Regions from separate parts of the Homo sapiens genome. Here all the other regions are linked to region 1. Evidence: promoter capture Hi-C in 16 types of primary human blood cells and fetal thymus (Javierre and others, 2016). All regions are on one chromosome and are shown on one strand. Each heading gives the region's core, a stretch centred on a gene start or on the middle of the fragment in contact. The rest is flanking DNA. Distances are from core to core; before and after follow the strand shown.

Region 1 (2,613 bases), core at 77-2,576:
TCTTGGCCACATGGGAGAAGCATCCTGCTGTTTCAAATGCCATGACATGCTGGGTAGCCTGAGGATTTAGTGATACTTTTCTAGGTTCATCTACAAAGGAGGATACCTACAGGTCTTTCTAATCTATAGCTGTACCTCCATGGAAGGTGAGACAAACCATCTCTTATACTGGTATGTGATTTACAATCTTTTCTTTTAGCCCTAAGCTTTGTTTCCTAACTCATTCAGGTTTTTGAGGTTTAATACTCAGAAACCAGTCTGTAGAATTCAAACTTTTCTCTCAAATTATTGTCTCTGCTATCAAGTTTAAAATCTATTTTAAAATTCAAAAGCAATAATTTGATTTCTTTTTTTTCTGCCTCCATGATACCTCTGTTTGAGTTTGAAAGGAGGCAGATGCCAGGATGTAATACTGCAAAACTATCATCTTGCTATATAAAATGGTCGTCTAAAAGCAAGCTGAGACTAAACAGGTACAAGTTGCACAGGTAGTGAAGCTCAGTGAGAGCAAGTGATGCAAGAGTCATTCTGAAGGGTGAAGAGCAACTTTGCTTTGTATTCCAACTCCATAGTCATGGGTTCTGCAATTGGAAATAGCTTAAACAAAGAGGGGAATACATTTTAAGGATACGGTGATGTCTCATAGAACCCCAGGACCAGAAAGCAGTTAGGCCTTGGGAATAAATGGAATCAGGAACTCAAATATAATCACACTCTTCACCTTTTCTGGTTCACGAAATTACTGAAAACTCCCATTTTTTGCAGTTCCTAGTGGCATTTAAAGATAATCTGATCTTTCTTTCTAAACTACACTTCCAAAATTCCCAGAAAAGGACAGTTTCCCAAATTGAGTAAATGTGGCCAGGGCAAGGGGAATGGAGGAAAGTCCCACTGTAATAACATAGACATTTTCATGGTTACCAGGCAAATGGTGTGGTAGAGATGGGGAAAATTTAAAAAATCAGTTTGCAAAACAGGTGAATCTGGCAGGTGCTCTGTTTGTTTTTCCTGGCTGCATGTAGTTGAAAGTTCAAACCTCTTAGACCTTCAAAATCTCCCTTTAATCTGTTTTTCCTACTTTTTCTGTTAACCCTGTATCATTCCCTACACCCTGAATCTAGAAGCACCAAGCTATTTTCTCTTCCTGGAATGCACTGTGCTCTTCATGCCTATCAGCCTTTATACAGGTTTCTTCTTAGTTTGGAATGCCATTTTCTCCCTAGTCTGCCTGGTAACTTCTAGTCATCTTTTAGGTCTAGCTCAGAGTTATATCTGGAAACACTTGACTTTCAAATAAGAGTTTATTGCTCTTTTTGTGTTTCACTTTGTTTGCACTATTCTAGGACTCCTATCACATTGGATTGTAGTTGCCTAATCTGTCTCTTTTCTCTACCACCTTGGACATTTTAGAAGTAAAACTATGCCTTGATCTTATTTGTCTCAATGGTGGCTTGTCATTGGGTTGTACGTAGCAGAGGTTCAATAAAATTCTCATCAGTTATTATTTTTCTCTTTTTCTCCCCGACCTAAATAATCTCAGTACCCCCAGCTCCCTAAACTATCAACAAATAGAAAAAAAGCTCTATTCATTTTTATCCTTGTTCTTTACTCTCCTTAGTTTAAACCCAAATTTGACTATGTAAATGTAATTTCATTTTGTTACCCCTTCCTTCATTAAAACAAAAATACCCTTCATGCACATGCAAAACACTCTACCCCACACTATTAAAACAGCAGAAATGAACACTAACAAAAGCCAAGATAAAAAATTTCCCCAATGTTGAATTTTTGGACTTAGTGTGGGGGTAGGAAAAATGGAGACATAATTCTGGTTCTCCCTTTGGCAGTTTTCAATTGCTGTTTCTTAATCTCAGTCAGAAAACACATTTCTCTGCCTCTCCTTTTGCCCCATTTCTACCCTCTCCTCCCTTGCCCCTGTGCAAAACCAAAGATGGGTTAAGAGGCAAGGCATAATGGAAGAGGAATGTTCTTTTCCTCCACTCCCACTTTCTTCTTCAAATTCTGTTTTGGGACCATCCTTCCCCACCCTCCCATTTTCATCTGATGGACACACTGTCTCTGTTGTCTCTTGTCATATTTGATTTTATGATATTTCATGTTTTATGTGCTTTTTTTTTTTTTTAGTAAATTCATGGACAGAGAATGTATCCTGGTAAACACTTAGATTAAAACAAATTTACATAGTTGATTACTATAAATGAAAATTAGTGACTCAAATTCTCCAGGTTTCTAAGCTACTTAGACTAAGCCAATCAGGTAATTTTTGCTACTTCTGGGCAAAATGTATCTGAATTCCTATTCAGTGGATTTGCAGGATGAAATCTAAGTTTACCTCTTTCATCTCTCATTTAAATGTGGAAAAACGAAATCAATAAAAATCTATATATGCTTATTAAGCATTTTAAGGAGGGTGTGAATAAGGAGTGAAAGCTTTGAGCAGTGACTACAGCAGTTTTTCGAAAGTCAAAACAATAACCAATGCCAATCAGTAGCTCTCTTCACCTCTCACACAATAATAGAGACAGGACAGGATAAAAAAGGGTTACATTTAAAAAAAAGTATGGATGTTAAACCATTGGAAATGGCACTGTA
Region 2 (2,613 bases), core at 59-2,558, 4.1 Mb after region 1:
ACCTCTTTCATAAACTGTTCAAACTCTTCATCTAGCTCTTCTTGGGAACAGTTAGCCATAGTCAACAATTTTGACCTCCCAAAGTAAACATTCTAAAGTACCTCAAACATTGGAAACACTAAATGACAAGAGACATAAACATCTTTTGAGGAAATCCATCAGATCATGAACACGACCAGACTTAAACTTCGGACATTTGTTATGATTCAGTATATATGCACAATTTTTTTTAACCAGTAAGAGCTGGTCAAGAGATTCCTAATTCATTAAGCAAACTGATTTGGAAAAGCAGCTTTGACAGGATGTCTTGTACTCAACGTTCAGAATTATGTTTTCATCTGTTAACATCCAATTGTTAAAGAGTGGTCTCTACAATATTTCCCAAACCTATGTTTGTGTGCATGTGTTAATTAGTACCTCTCAAACACAAACCAGGTCCTCACAGGGAATCTTAAAAACTGTAAGTTAGCAAATCCAAAGGACTGTTTCTTTCTTGCAAAGCACACGACAGTTTGTGCTGCCTTATCACTCGGCTCGTTATTTTACCAATCCATAGTAATAGTTTCGTAAAGCAGACTGCATAGTTTCGTAAAGCAGACTGTATCCAGATACGGGGATGTTTCAAAATATACACAAATAGAATTTAGTAAGAATTAGTAATTTAGTCAAAATACTTAAAGAATACTTAAAGTTAATGGAGTACACAAATCAGTACTATGTTTCTTTTGAAGCGAGGGAAGACCGACAAAAATTATGTGCTGAACACAAGCAGAATCCAGTGATTTGCAACGGAAAGCGTTCCCCTAGACACCTAATGAACCCAACCTTGGGTCGACCCCCAGCTCCTGAACTCCCTAGAGCAGCTCAAATCCCAGCTTTCTTCTGTAGAGATGGGGGAGGGGAAGAGGGCTTGCAGACCCGGACAATACCCTCCCCATCGTGCAGAGTAACACCTCTTCCCCTCATTTGCACTTTCGATCAGTTCAGGGTAAGTGCGGTTAAGGTCTTGGCCTGAATAGCTTGGTCAGGGGTGAGCTCCACTAAAAGCTTCTCAAGCCTGGCTGCGACCCCGTCCCCAGAAGCGCGGGTTCGGGAATTGGAGGGAAGACAAAGACGCATTTGCCGTGGGCTCCGGGCGGAGAAGGGGAATGACCTGGAAAATTAAAGCCCTTCGCTCGAGTATGAAGCACGGCCTCGACCAGGGCGATTTGGGTGGGAAACCAGCGTTCACACCTTACCACCTACCTCTGCCTCTGAATTCCGCGCTTTCCCGGAAGGTCTGTGCGGGTCCACCAGTTGTCAGGGTAACAGACTTCAGCTGCCGGGTTCTGGAGTCACATGACCCGGGCTGGTCACGTGGGCCGTGGGTTTCCCAATGCCTTTACAAGCGAAGGTCGGAATAACCACGGCTGAGAAAGACACTCTAGTGGCTAAACCTTCGCTGCTGCAGTAAAATGCCTTTCCTTCCCTGGCTTTCTCTACGTTCCTTAGAAAAGGGGACAGCGGCAAACCGGTTACTGGAGAAGCGAGACGGAGGCTTCCAGCAGGCTTGGAGGGCGCGGTGGTTGTAGGCCAGCCCGTGGCTTTCTGGGAAATGTAGTTTAGCTCCCCTGGTCCTTGTGTTTCCGCACTCCGCATCGTCGCCTCCCGCCTTCCCCACACTTGTCATTCGAGCGCTCTGTTTTTCCAAGGGGCAATTTTGAAGAGATTGAATTTCTTGGATTTCTTTGGCCTGCAAAGACCTGTGTAGGCATTGTGAGAGAAACACAAACCTGTGAGGAAAAAAACTGTCGTTTAGATGGGGACTCTGTTCCACCACCTAGTGGGCAAGAAATCGAAAATACGCAAACAGCAAGATTCTTATTAAGTTATTGCTCCTCCCGCTACCCCTACTTTTCAAAACTGCATTCTTTACTGGCATTTCACAATTACTGACTTGGATTTTGTTTTCTATTTCTTTTCTTTTTTTCAAAGCATGCAACATTAGCTGGAGTTTCAGAGGACAACATTTAGCATAGTGTAAGTAAAATCTACAACAGCTGCAGGTTTTGCTGATGGTAGACTTAGTTCAGGACCTCATCTTTAGCTAGAACTGTTTATTCATCAAGTCTTTCTTGCAATACAAATATGTACAAACCAGGAGCTGTGGACTATGATGCAAATATGAATAATAAAAGAAATATCTTAAGCTACCATTTATTGAGAAGTTGACTTCCTGCCACCTTCTATCAAAGACTTACCTTCCCACATATGATCTAGAGCCTTTACCCATTCTTCTTCTCACTGATCTTGTTCCACTGGTCATTTCCCTTAATCCTGTATCTTCGACTTCTGGCTGGCTGTGGGATTTTTCCTAACAGCATTTGAACATGCCTTGAGATCCCCACCTAAAACATCACTTCTGACACATTCTCTTCATGCTATTATTTCCCAGTGGTTGAAATGATCTGTCTCCTCACCTTACTTGCCAATCTTTTCTGAGGAATTATTTCCACTTTACCTCCCTTTTGTCAGACCTTTTAATCCTGTCTCTGTGTGTGTAAGTGTACATATATGACAGCGCTTTATTTGATCTCCCAATACTATTTGATACACTTGTCTCCTCTCTTTCTT
Region 3 (2,613 bases), core at 48-2,547, 3.8 Mb after region 1:
AAATTCAGTCTTCTCATAATAAGCATTTCAATTGCAAATAAAAATGGATAGAGGTGAATGTCATAGGTGGCTACCTTATTTGAATGCTTGTATTTGAATGGCCACATATAGTCACACACTTTTTCTTCTGATTCTGCAAACATAACCTTGATTTTTTAGGCACTTTAAGAACTAAGTAGTTAAACAGAGAAAGTTTAAAGCATGACAATATGTTCAGAGTTAGGAAAAATTAGTAATTAAAGGAGGATGGGGAGGATTATTTAGAACTATGTTTCTTCTCCTGAAAACTTTCTCCCTTATTGGATTCTACTCTCAAGATCTATGTGTTCCCCAAGGGACACACAAAACAATCAATCAAACAAACAAAAACCATCAGATTTTGAGCATTAGAGCCTGGTGTTTACCTGCACAGTGTTGGTCCTTTTCCCATTAATATGTTGGAATAGCACAAACAGCCACTGCCACTTATTCAGTACCTAATATTAATCAGGCACTGCAGTATGTAGTTTACACATGATCCTTTAATCTTTAATAAACCCATTATGCAGATGGGGAAAATGAGACTTTGAGATACTAAAGTAACTTGCATAAGACAGCTCAGTCATTAAGTGCAGGGATGGCATGCAAACCAAATCTGACTTTTAAACGTTACTTCATCACCACAGCTGGAGGTGAGCTGCATCAGTACACAATTCCCAGTGAAGACAGGAAGTTACATAAGGAGGGAGAATTTGTGAGTGGGTGAATAGAGCAGAAGGTGACTTTACTAACGTCTTTCGCGCATTCATTAGCCCTCAGCATGCTTAAAGGTGAAGTTTAAGGATGATTAAAGGTGAGGTTTTCTTCTTACCCCACAGTAGTGGCTGTTGACATTTGATATTTTTGCTCTTAAAGGTGTGAGATGCTCTTTGCATTACAGCCTAGTGCCTTACAGGAAAGAATTTCAGAGAAACTAAAATTCGTTTTAGTCCATATTTCAAGTAGTGTGTTTTAGTCCATATTTCAAGTAGTGTGATGGTACTGCTTAACAATGAACAGACATTGCTGTTCCGGGTTAACAGGACTAAGAATTTGTTCCCACATTCGGTCAGCACCAAGGCTAAGGAACAGCTTCACTCTCTAATCTTTCCACGAAATAGCTGTCACCTTGCTCCGGTGCTGAAGTTCGGGATGCGGAACTAGCTGAGCATGCGTACTTCCTCCCTGCCGGCCCTCCCTCCGTCCCGTTGGCTCCGCCCTCCGCGGACGTGCTGCGTCAGAATGCGCCTCACCCCTGGCGACCCCGGAAGTGGGTCGGGGGCTTGGCCTCTGCCCGGCCACAGAGCCGGAGCTGGAGGTGCTGTCCCGTCTGGCGGCGATCCCCGGGCAGGGCCCGGGGCCGGGGTTTGAAGATGCTGAACGTCCCTTCCCAGTCTTTCCCGGCCCCCAGGTCGCAGCAGCGTGTCGCCTCCGGGGGGCGTAGCAAGGTAAGCGGGTGGCTCCGTGAGTCTCTCCCCTCGCTGCGTTTCGAGCTCTGGCAGTGTGTTCTCTTCTTCCGCCCCAACTCCCAGCTCCTGCACCCCTCTCTAAGCTGTCGTTCCCTGCTGTCCTTGCCTGCAACCTCTTTCTGATCCCACTTTGTCTACAGTCCCTAAACTCTCCTTACCTCCTCCCTTTCCCCTAGCAGTCCCTCTTCTTTCTGGTCCTTTATCCCGCTCTATCCGTTCCCTTCCTCCAAGTCCTTTCCCGCGATTTAAATTTATATGACAGAGCCAGGCACTGTGTTTGCGGTATTATAGGCTCTCGGTATTAGCCGCCTTCCCTCAACCTCATCTTCTCCCTGGTCTTTTGTTCTTCACTGCCTGAAGGAGTTGTACCACATCACTCGATGTGGGTTCCCTCGCAGGAGGGAAAGGCTTGGCAGTGGCGACAGTGACCGTCCGTGCAAGGATGGGGACTTCTGGAGTTGGGGAGCTAGGTCAGGTTTACAGACACTATCCAAGACATACTGCCTTTCTTTCTTCCTCTGGTACCTGATTGTTTTGTCATTGCCTTTTCTACTAGTATCACTTGCTAACTTCGAAGCAAATATAATAATACTCTTGAGTTCTTGTTGAGCACAGTTGCTGTTAGCAACAGGTGGAATACTGTACAGATATATTTTATATTTGCAGAATTCAATAAAAATTGTGTTCTTTGTTCTTTTGCGAATGTTGTTTGTTCCTATTTGTTAGTTCCTCATTCTGTAACCATATCTTTATCTTTCGTTTGTGACACTTCCACTTAACTTGGGCCACTCGGTTAACTCTTGAGTCTTAGCATCGTTTGGAACCCTTATCGATTTTCTTATTTTTCTCCACTTAGACCTGGCGTTCTGATTCTAGTTCAGAATGAATATAGGTTCAGGGATCTGTGGTTTTCATTAGCTTTCCAGAGATTTCTTAAGTACTTACGGGTGGCCGTGTATATTCTCAGTGCTTTGCATGTATTAACTTTAATTTTCACAATTATCCTTTGAAGTGAAAGCTTTTATTGTCTCTATTTCGCAGAAAAGGAAACTGGCTAAGAAATATTGCCCTAAATTGCGTAGGCTTGTGTTGTGGTTCTGCTGTGAAATTTCATTTACTGATTCAT

The links. Contacts are between HindIII fragments. The CHiCAGO score rates a contact against its expected background, and 5 or more counts as called.
Region 2: the fragment with the promoter of CEP162 here is called in contact with a fragment that was not itself captured in region 1 in 2 of 17 cell types (total B cells and activated CD4 T cells); the score reaches 6.3 in total B cells.
Region 3: the fragment with the promoter of CYB5R4 here is called in contact with a fragment that was not itself captured in region 1 in 5 of 17 cell types (naive B cells, naive CD4 T cells, non-activated CD4 T cells and 2 more); the score reaches 6.1 in naive B cells.

What each region holds. Positions count from the first base shown.
Region 1 is chr6:80,103,739-80,106,351 of GRCh38, forward strand. No RefSeq gene overlaps it. Among named protein-coding and RNA genes, the nearest start is that of BCKDHB, 1.6 kb to the right of the region's middle. The HindIII fragment of the contact is 2,245 bases long and covers 205-2,449 here.
Region 2 is chr6:84,226,335-84,228,947 of GRCh38, forward strand. It overlaps CEP162 (centrosomal protein 162), which reads right to left and starts at 1,309. Exons shown (of 27, transcript NM_014895.4): 1 at 1,246-1,309; 2 at 3-118. The coding sequence starts at 59. RefSeq lists enhancers at 722-1,222, 1,223-1,723, 1,625-1,784. The HindIII fragment of the contact is 5,497 bases long and covers 1,046-2,613 here.
Region 3 is chr6:83,858,392-83,861,004 of GRCh38, forward strand. CYB5R4 (cytochrome b5 reductase 4) reads left to right here and starts at 1,298. Exons shown (of 16, transcript NM_016230.4): 1 at 1,298-1,466. The coding sequence starts at 1,392. All of the region lies in intron 3 of RIPPLY2-CYB5R4 (RIPPLY2-CYB5R4 readthrough), which reads left to right. RefSeq lists a silencer at 1,369-1,418. The HindIII fragment of the contact is 3,476 bases long and covers 1-2,503 here.